Linked DNA regions of Homo sapiens: all the other regions are linked to region 3. The links are contacts of gene promoters, found by promoter capture Hi-C in blood cells and fetal thymus (Javierre and others, 2016). All regions are on one chromosome and are shown on one strand. The core of a region is centred on a gene start or on the middle of the fragment in contact, and the rest is flanking DNA. Distances in the headings are between cores, read along the strand shown. Region 1 overlaps CDKL5 (cyclin dependent kinase like 5). Region 2 overlaps ADGRG2 (adhesion G protein-coupled receptor G2). Region 3 holds the start of EIF1AX-AS1 (EIF1AX antisense RNA 1).

Evidence for each region. Contacts are between HindIII fragments. The CHiCAGO score rates a contact against its expected background, and 5 or more counts as called.
Region 1: a contact is called between a fragment that was not itself captured here and the fragment with the promoter of EIF1AX-AS1 in region 3, in 1 of 17 cell types (neutrophils). The highest score is 5.1, in neutrophils.
Region 2: a fragment that was not itself captured here is called in contact with the fragment with the promoter of EIF1AX-AS1 in region 3 in 1 of 17 cell types (neutrophils); the score reaches 6.0 in neutrophils.

Annotation. Positions count from the first base shown.
Region 1 is chrX:18,433,407-18,436,674 of GRCh38, reverse strand. All of the region lies in intron 1 of CDKL5 (cyclin dependent kinase like 5), which reads right to left. Among named protein-coding and RNA genes, the nearest start is that of CDKL5, 9.4 kb to the right of the region's middle. The HindIII fragment of the contact is 8,731 bases long and covers 1-3,268 here.
Region 2 is chrX:18,999,486-19,002,944 of GRCh38, reverse strand. ADGRG2 (adhesion G protein-coupled receptor G2) reads left to right here. Exons shown (of 29, transcript NM_001079858.3): 24 at 1-99; 25 at 2,985-3,084. All of the region lies in intron 2 of LOC101928415 (a long non-coding RNA gene), which reads right to left. Among named protein-coding and RNA genes, the nearest start is that of PHKA2, 17 kb to the right of the region's middle. The HindIII fragment of the contact is 3,844 bases long and covers 113-3,459 here.
Region 3 is chrX:20,137,836-20,141,247 of GRCh38, reverse strand. It overlaps EIF1AX-AS1 (EIF1AX antisense RNA 1), which reads right to left and starts at 1,280. Exons shown (of 2, transcript NR_046592.2): 1 at 1,013-1,280; 2 at 804-913. It overlaps EIF1AX (eukaryotic translation initiation factor 1A X-linked), which reads left to right. Exons shown (of 7, transcript NM_001412.4): 2 at 2,626-2,709. RefSeq lists an enhancer at 9-168. The HindIII fragment of the contact is 4,524 bases long and covers 1-1,704 here.

The DNA of each region.
Region 1 (3,268 bases), core at 243-2,742, 1.7 Mb after region 3:
GCCTGCCTCAGCCTCCCAAAGTGCTGGGATTACAGGTGTGAGCCACCATGCCCAGCCCTCTTTCAGTTCTTTAAAAGGTTCTGTTGTGCAAAAACCCCAGCTCTCTCACCTTGCCTCATCACATTTGCACCTTCTGTCTGGAAAACTTATTTCCCCAACTAGACCAGGTCCTTCTCATTCTTCGGGTCTCACTTAAATGTTACTTCCTCAGAGCGACCTTCCCACCTCTTCCCCCAAGGACAGACTCTCCAACCCTACCCTGTTACATACAGTTGACCCTTGAACAACACAGGTTTGAACTGCATGGATCTACTTATACCCAGATTTTTTTTCAATATAAATTACACTGAGTGTGCCTCCCTCTCCTGCCTCCCCTTCCACCTTCTCTACCTCTTCCACCTCTGCCCCTGCTGAGACAGCAAGACAACCCCTCCCTCTTCCTCCTCAGCCTACTCAATGTGAAGACGATGAGCACATTTATAATGATCCACTTCCTCTTAATGAATAGTAAGTATCTTTTCTCTTCCTATGATTTTAATAACATTTTCTTCTCTGGCTTACTTTACTGTAGGAATATACTACATAATACATATAACATACAAAACAATGTGTTAATTGACTATTTATATTACCAATAAGGCTTCCAGTCAACAGTAGGCCATTTTAGTAGTTAAGTTTTTGGGGGGGTCAAAAGTTATACTTGGATTTTTGACTGCGTGAGGGTCAGCACCCTAACCCCTACCTTGTTCAAGGGTCAAGTACACTCCCATAGTGTTCTGCAGTTCTCCTCTGCCTCCATCTCAAGACTAAATTCTTTGGCCGGCTCACACCTGTAATCATGGCACTTTGGGAGGCCAAGGTGGGTGGATCTCTTGAGGTCAGGAGTTCGAAATCAGCCTGGCCAACATAGTGAAACCCCGTCTCTACTGAAAATACAAAAATTAGCCAGGTGTGGAGGCACGCACCTGTAGTCCCAGCTACTTGGGAGGCTGAAGCACAAAAATCGCTTGAACCCAAGAGGCGGAGGTGGCAGTGAGCCAAGATCGCACCACTGCACTCCAGCCTGGGAGACAGAGTGAGATTCTGTCTCAAAAATTAATTAATTAATTTTTTGAGGGCAGGGCCTACTTACATTTTATCACTCCATGTAGTCTCCAGCAAAGTCTGGCACACAATACAGAATCATTAAGTAATATTTGTTAAATGAATGAAGGACAGATCCTCAGGATGTAGGACAGGTTATTTGAGAAATAAATAATTGATAAAGTATAAAATAATTATTTGCACAAAATTAGCTTTTGTCTACCCCAACTATTTTCAGTAAGTACAATTAAAATCAAATTTTTTCTTTTCATTTGCATTGCTAAACTTGAATTTAGTGGTAATATTAGGAATAATAATTACTAGCAATTAAAGTTAATATATCCCATAAGCGGCTGACAAACCTTGGTGGGGTGTGTGTCTGAGGGTGTGGATAAATTCTAGGATATGTCACATCTGACCCAGCCTCTGGTAATCTTTGAAAGATTCTACTCATCAGGAAATTAGTTTCTAAAATCAGCAATGTCAGGGTAATCAGGTAAATCCGGGTCAGTAAGTTGTTCTTCAACTATTACTCACCACCTTTTTTTATCTGTCATATCTTCCTCATGAGACTGTATATGTTTACTTTAATTATCAAAATACAATCTCATACTTCCAAGAACCTAATCTTTAAACATAATACAAAATCTTTTTCTTCCTTTTTGAGATAGAGTCTCACTCTGTGGCCCAGGCTGGAGTACAGTGGTGCGACCTTGGCTCACTGCAACCCCTGCCTCCCAGGTTCATGGGACTCTCCCGACTCAGCCTCCTGAGTAGCTGGGATTACAGGTGCGTGCCACCACACTCAGCTAATTTTTGTATTTTTTGTAGAGAGAGGGTTTCACCTTGTTGTCCAGGCTGGTCTCGAACTCCTGACCTCAAGGGATCCGCCCACCTTGGCCTCCCAAAGTGCTGGGATTACAGGCATGAGCCACCATGCCTGGCCCATAATACAAAATACACAGTTTAAAACTGATATCTAAAATTGCAACTTACCTAAAATAACATAATCCTTTTAAACAATATATATTATTTATATATGTTTTGTTAATTTCCAGAAACCAAAGTTGTTCTTACTATCAAAATCAAGTTACACTGGCACTTCATGTTACCTATGCCTATTTCAAACCAGTTACGATTGAACTGACAGTAAAATATTAATATCAGACCAGTGCCGTGTGTCTAACCTGTTTGCCATTAAAAATCCAGACACAACCAACCACACAAGGAGTTATTGATTTACCTGCCTGGTACATATAAGGGTCACTTTCCATAGAGAAATGTTCATCTAAAAGCAAAGAAAATTAGATACATTTTCCAAAACACTTTACTTCTAACCAAACCATTACATTCCTCTCCTATATGTACCCAAAAAAATAACATCCCTAAGCAGTGTCCGTCTACCCAAGCAATACACTGAGCAAAGGAGGAAACCTGCACAAGTGGGGATCAGCCTGTGCTGATGAGACTTCCCGTTCCTAAGCTGGCCTTACTCCTCAGCCCACCCTAGAAGGTAACTAAGAAGAAAATGATGCAGGCAGGAAAAGGCAGTTACAGTACCTTGCATGTTAAGCTGTTTGCAAATCCCATCACAATCCAGTCTGAAGTAGACACAGTGTCTAAATACCTAAATTTGATGAAGCCTGCTCTACGACACGCGCATTAGGCATGGATCTGTCAAGGGGGATTAGAGGTCCAAACAACAAAATGCACAATGTCATTAGCTTAAAATCAAGAAAACCAATTGTTTCCCTGTGCTCTTACATTTGAAAGTAACTTTTTCTTGCACAATAATTACATTACTTTTACCTTCATTTATTTTCCCTGCATTCCCAACATATCACCAAGAATGTTGTATTTTATTTGCTGGTTTAAAAAAGATCAAATGAAAATAAAATTTAAGCCACAAACACAAGGTAATTTATATCATTTGCAGTTATGATCCTTTAAATTCCGCTATGTATTATGCATAGGCAAGAACTTTTGAAAATACAAAAAGCATTATGAAATGATACTGTGTGTGAAAATTTTTTTTTTTATTTAAACGGAGTCTCGCTCTTGTTGCTCAGGCTGGAGTCCAATGATGCAATCTCGGCTCACCGCAACCTCCACCTCCCCGGTTTAAGCAATTCTTCTGCCTCAGGCTCCCGAGTAGCTGGGATTATAGGCATGCGCCACCAGGCCC
Region 2 (3,459 bases), core at 785-3,284, 1.1 Mb after region 3:
GGATGGGCCTAGAAGCATTCCATATGTACCTGGCCCTTGTCAAAGTATTTAATACTTACATCCGAAAATACATCCTTAAATTCTGCATTGTCGGTTGGGGTATGTATAAGCTTGCCTGCATGTTGCCTGGACTTTCTCTGCCTTTTCTCTAGTGTTTTGATTTTTGAGCAGGTGGAAACGATGAAGCAGATCACATTCAGCAAGTTTCTAAAACAGCTTTATACTCTTACATGTGCACTGCCCGAAGAGCAACTTTGTCAAGTCTCCTTCTAGGACACCTGTTTATTTCTTTGGATTTGTTATGAATATGGAATTCCTCAAGGTTGAACCATGAATCCTCTTTGTATCTCCAGGAACTAGAATTTGGGGCTGGCACAGAAGGTGCTCAATATATTGAAAACATTAGCTTGGGGTGGTAATATATTGAAAACATTAGCTTGGTGGTAAAGAGCCCAAACTCTCAGTCCCTGAGCTCCCAGCCAGCCTCATTCTACTTTGTACCTCCCAGATATCAGACACGTATGACAGTATGCTAAGAAGGGCAGAGTGAGAGAATGTACATATAAAACCCATTGTAACTTCACTGCCACGTGGGCATGACATTTCAGATTGTGCAGCCTATTGGTGGCAGGTCGCAAGGCCTTAGGCTCCCCAAATATGTTGAAGATTTCTTCATTCAATTTCCCACCCAATGCAGGAGCCTCTTCAACCCTCAACTCCACCTGACTTATCCTTGACTAAAGATAATCTAACTTCTGCTTGAATACTTCTATTACTGGGGAGTTCATGACCTTACAAGGCAGCCAATAACCATTTTATAAAGCTCTACAGTTCTGATTTTCCATTAAGTTCAGTTGGCTCCCTGGTGGCACTTACCAGTGGTTTTGCTCAGGCAGAAAACAGTAAGTTGATACCTCTTCTGCCAGAGAGTCCTTTAGATAATCTACAAGTAATATATAACAGTGTGTATAATCCCCTGTTTTTCACACAAGTGACCCCATGCAAGATAAGCCAGTGAGGTGAGCCAGGCAGTCATCCCAAATGTAGGTGAAGAAACTGGCTCCAAGTGATGATGTGATATCCCCCCAATTCACAAAGCTAGAAAACAGCAAGCCTGGCTCTCCGTCTCCTTATATGCAGCCTTCTGCCATCCCCCCAACCAGACTGCCTCTATTTTCAGGCTAAATATTCCTACACATCAAGATTGAAAGCACACCACCACCCTTGCCACCCTGCCTTCTATCTTATGTCACTATGTCTTTGTGAAGAACAACAGAACAACACCCTTTCCCTGTTTGTCCCAGAAACATAAGTCAACGCTCCAGATACTGGGCACGGATTCTGTCTTCTTTAGAGAAGGCTGAAAGTCAGATTCCTTTCTTAAGTATGAGGCCCCCACCCCCAATGTTTTATTTTTAACAAAGTGTCTCACTTAGAAAATTATCATATGTCAGGGTCACCAGAAGGTACAAGCGCAAAGGCATTAAATGAACTATTAGATTTGATTTTACCAGGCACTGCAACTGGTCTGTGACAAGGAATTGTTTGTTCTTTACCAGAGCCTTGAGATAGGACGTCTGCTGGTCAGTGTGCAGAGTGTGGGGCGGTGGCATGGGGCTGGCGGGTGATGGTGTGCAGTGGTGAATAGGATTCTTTCCCCACCAAAAGCCATTTTAAACTTGGGGGACCCTTCTCATGGTACCTTCTCTGAAGGGAAGTGTCCGTGGGCTCTCAACAGAGCCAGCATAGTAGCAGTCACCACCCCCTGGATCAGCCAGGACAGAACCCTCCATCCTTCACTGGGTCTCAAAGTCTTCAAATTGAGGACTTTTGGTTTCATAATGAAAGATTTGCCAGGAGTTGCTGACTCTTAAATATACATTCCAGACATGTATAAGTTAAAGGCACAACGCTGGGTGCAGTGGCTCATGCCTGTAATCCCAGCACTTTGGGAGGCCGAGGTGGGCGGATCACCTGAGGTCAGGAGTTCGAGACCAGCCTAGCCAACATGGTGAAACCCCGTCTCTACTAAAAATACAAAAATTAGCCAGGTGTGGTGGTGCACACCTGTAATCCCAGCTACTTGGGAGGCTGAGGCACAAGAATCGCTTGAACCCGGGAGGCGGAGGCGGAGGTTGCAGTGAGCCGAGATTGTGCCACTGCACTCTAGCCTGGGTGACAGAGGGGGGCCGGGTGGGGGGTGGGGAGTTAAAGGCAACACTGGCAGCTGTAACAGATTCACCTTGAAATCTCAGTAGAAGATCATTTCTCACTCACCTACAGTCTAGTTAGCAGGGGCAGAGGAGTCCCTGGTCTTGCAGTTATTCAGGGATCCAAGCTATTGAAGACTCTGCCTCAAGGTTGCCCTAAGTTTGCAGGCAAAAAGAAAGTAGAGGATCTCACAGGAGGTTTCTATGGGGCAGGCCTGGAAGTGGAGCAAATCACTTGTGCCCGTATCCCATGGGCCCAAAGTGAGCCATGTGGCCACACACACCCAGCTGCCTGGGAGGCTGGGAGCATCCAGTCATGTGCCAAAGAGGAAAAGAAACCAGCCTGGTGAACAGCTAGCCAGTCTCTGCTACAAGATGTAAATAGGATGTGATCTCTAGTCTTGTCACCCACTTTGGTTATTAGAACTAGGTGTGACCAGCCGGGTGCGGTGGCTCACGCCTGCAATCCCAGCACTTTGGGAGACCGAGGCGGGCAGATCACGAGGTCAGGAGATCGAGACCATCCTGGCTAACATGGTGAAACCCCGTCTCTACGAAAAATACAAAACAAAAATTAGCCAGGCATGGTGGCACGCGCCTGTAATCCCAGCTACTAGGGAGGCTGAGGCAGGAGAATCACTTGAACCCAGGAGGCGGAGGTTGCAGTGAGCCGAGATCGCACCACTGCACTCCAGCCTGGGTGACAGAGCAAGAATCCGTCTCAAAAAAAAAAAAAAAAAAAATTAGGTGTGACCAATGTTTCCCATCTTCCAGGGGTACCAGCTGTGGTTGTGACCATCATCCTGACTATATCCCCAGATAACTATGGGCTTGGATCCTATGGGAAATTCCCCAATGGTTCACCGGATGACTTGTGAGTACAAAGCCCCCTAAGGGAATGCTAAGTGAACTGGAAAACGGAATGCTCCTAGAAAACGGAGGATCTAATCAGCATATTGACTCCTGCTATCATCCTAATAAAACCCAGCAATACTTCACAGCAGCCTTCACAGTCATATGTAATGAGAGAAGCTAGCTGGAAATGCCATGCTACTCTTCAAGTGATGAATTAGGAGCTATTCTGAAAAGAAAAATGAATTAGGAAGAACTATTTTGAAAATATTTTCATTAGCCTCTGATAAAATGACATTCCAGTTATATTAATAAAGACTCATAGAACAGAGTTGCTAGGATTTACAGGGGCAAAATCCTGAATGTTTAAAAAAAGGTCTATTTTTAAAATACTTTA
Region 3 (3,412 bases), core at 31-2,530:
CCTGGAAGCCGTTCTGAACTTTCAGAGTGCTGTCTGCATTCGTGAGCACCAGGTACTCCTGCATGGGTTTCTTTATGGACAGTTCAGTATTGTTGAGGCTACTCGCTGTCCCTTGTGAACAGTGGGTGAAACCTTGATACATTTCTAAGGCTCACCTCTAGAGATTTACTCTCTCCATCCCTTTACAGGATATAGCTTATGTTTGTTTGCTGAAGACTTATTCCATATTGAGCCAAGTTTTCTACTTTTGCTTCAGATGATGCATATGTTGTGAGAATAAAGACCTAATTTAAGTGTCCTCCATTCTGAGGCTAAGCGTTCACAAATGATCAGACTTGAGGATAACTTTATTTGGGATTTCCAAAACGGAAGGCCTAATCTTAAAAAAAAAAAAACAAAAACAAAAAACAGAACACTCCTAAAGAAATTACTTTTATAGATTTACAGTGTTCCTGTCATTTTTAATAGCCGTATAACTTGAAGAAAATTGTGCAAGTAAATATAGGGAAAATACTGTATTTTCCTACAGGAGAGGAGCATACTTCATAGTCCGTAAGTAGTCTCCTTTGATTATTCATTCTAGAGGAAACCCTCCCCTGACACAGGCCTACTTCTGCTCTCTTTTCTACTTGACAGCTGGCTCCAGGGATTCTACCACATTTCCTCTTTGTAGCTGTCACTTATTACTTTATCCCTTAGGGTACTTGGTCGAGGTGTTCTGTGCACAAGTTGGTGCAGTCACTGCTCATTATTTTGGAAAAGATGGAGTTATAAACAAAAAATTTTAAAGTCTTACAGTTTTCTTCTGTATAATCCTTTATTCTCTCTGAGGTGGTAAGGGGATCACTTCCATCTTATTCTCACCTTTATTTCTAGTAATAAGATTTCCAATTCTTCCACCAGGCTGTAAGCTCTACAAGGCAGGAATAGTATCTGTCTTAATCTCATTGGATTGCCAGCACTTGACAATTAGTAGATGCTTAATAAATATTTGTTGGTTTAAGTCACCTACCTCCTGTCGACTCCACCCTTAGTGAATAATAGGTTCTGCTTTGGTTCCAAGGGGATAGGACTTCTACACTAAATCACATCTAGTTCCCTAGCCTCATGTCTTAAGAAAGAGCCTCTCTGGGAATTTCTCCAAAACAACTCTGGTTTAAAGAATGTTGATGTCACTTTAATTGTTGTACACTCAGACCTAGTCTCATTCATTCAACAGAGAATTTAAAGAACATCCCATTACATGGCAATAAAATACAAAGGGGAGTGATCCGGGTATGGTTAATTCTGGTAAATTGACAAGTAATTAGTCTTTTCTTAAATAACATTTGAGGCATACAAAAAATACAGCTAACATGATATACCTGGGAACCCATTACTCTGAATTTAAGAATTACAGCGCAGATTGAGGTAAAGCCCTAATCACCTTTTACTCTCTTTTTGGAGGTAATCACCAGGCTGAGTTTGGTGTTTATCATTCCTGTACTGTCTGAAACCAATCAGTTCTTAGTTATCTTACTTAGAGGAATGGTACTTTTCATGACCTAATTTAAGTGTCCTCCATTTTTTTTTGCTGCTTCCAAGCTCTTCCCATGAGTCTCTTAGGGTCATTACCACTTACAGCCTTTTTCCTGCCTTTTGGAAATGGCTGCCAATGTGGTTTCCTTTCTGGAATGGGAGCAAAATGCTGTGGAGAGGTAAGCTTATGTGGGGGCTAGGGGCAAAAAAAACATTGTGACTTTGGTCACCCCAGCTTACTGACTGTAATCAGTGAACTGATTTACTCACTGAAGCTAAGCGACTTACTTAACTTCTCTGAGCTTCAGGGAACTCATGGGTAAACTGGGAATAAATGAATGTTATGACCTCATGGGGTGATTGTGACAAGTAAATGGGCAGAATTATTGCATAGTGGTTAAGAGCATGGTCACTGGGGTCATATAATAGAAACAGGGATGTTGAGTAGGGACCAGCATTATAAAAGAAAGTAAATTGGGTACCGAACAGATCTTCTTTATTTTTTAAGAGACAGTGTCTCGCTATGTTGCCCAGGCTAGCCTGGAACCTCCTGGGCTTGCTCAAGTGATCCTCCCACCTGAGCCTCCTGAGTAGCTGAGACCCTAGGCGCACACCACTGCACCCAGTGAGATTTCAATATTTATGGTACTCTGCTACCAAAAGTTTGAAAACCACAGTTCTCTGTCCAGACACTGTCTTCACTTAATTTTGAAAGTATCGGGTTCCTTGCATAGGGCCTGGCTTTAGAAGACACCCAAGATTTCCGCTTAGAAGAATATGTATAGAATTGCATTTTTATTTCAAAAGGATGGGTGCTAAAGTGAAATGTTTTTCTATATTTTTTAACATAATATCTGCTATTTATGTGTATTTTATGTCAGAAAAATCCCCAAAGGAAATTCCAAGAAGGGTAGGGAGGTGATAATGTGTTAATGTTGGGATTGGAGATTGTAAATTTAATATGATTGTGTAGCTAAAATAGATGAATTTTTTAATTTAAGTGATCTTTTAAAAAATGGTTTTATAAGCCTTAATTTCATTTTATTTCATACTGTTTTACAGATAATTAATGTCATTTACCTCCTTTTCTTTTTTTTAAACCATCAGGTAAAGGAGGTAAAAACAGACGCAGGGGTAAGAATGAGAATGAATCTGAAAAAAGAGAACTGGTATTCAAAGAGGATGGTCAGGGTAAGTGTTTTCATAAATTACGCTTTTTAAAATAACATCCTTTCTTTTTTAGCTGGGGACTTTATTTTTTTGAGACAGCGTCTTGCCCATCGCCCAGGGTGAAGTGTGGTGGCACGATTACAGCCCACTGCAGCCATGACCTCCTGGGCTGAAGCAGTCCTTCCACTTCAGCCTCCCGAGTATTTGGGACTACAGGCACACACCACCACGTCTGGCTAATTTTAAAAATTTTTTTAGGCTGGGCGCAGTGGCTCACGTCTGTAATCCCAGCACTTTGGGAGGCCAAGGCGGGCGGATCACGAGGTCAGGAGTTCGAGACCAGCCTGACCAACATGATGAAACCCCGTCTCTACTAAAATTACAAAAATTAGCTGGGTGTGGTGGCACGTGCCTGTAATCCCAGCTACTCAGGAGGCTGAGGCAGGAGAATTGTTTGAACCTGGGAGGCGGAGGTTGCAGTGAGCCGAGATCACACCACTGCACTCCAGCCTGGGTGACAGAGGGAGACTCTGTCTCAAAAAAAAAAAAAAAAAAAAAAAAAAAACTGTATAGAGATGAGGTCTTCATATGTTGCCCTGGCTATTCTCGAACTCCTGGGCTCAAGTGATTCTCCCACCATGACCTCCCAAAGTACTGGGAACTAAGAATGTGTCGTATAGTTCAGAGGGAATTGAGCTATGGTTGACAGTTCTGTGATTTAGTT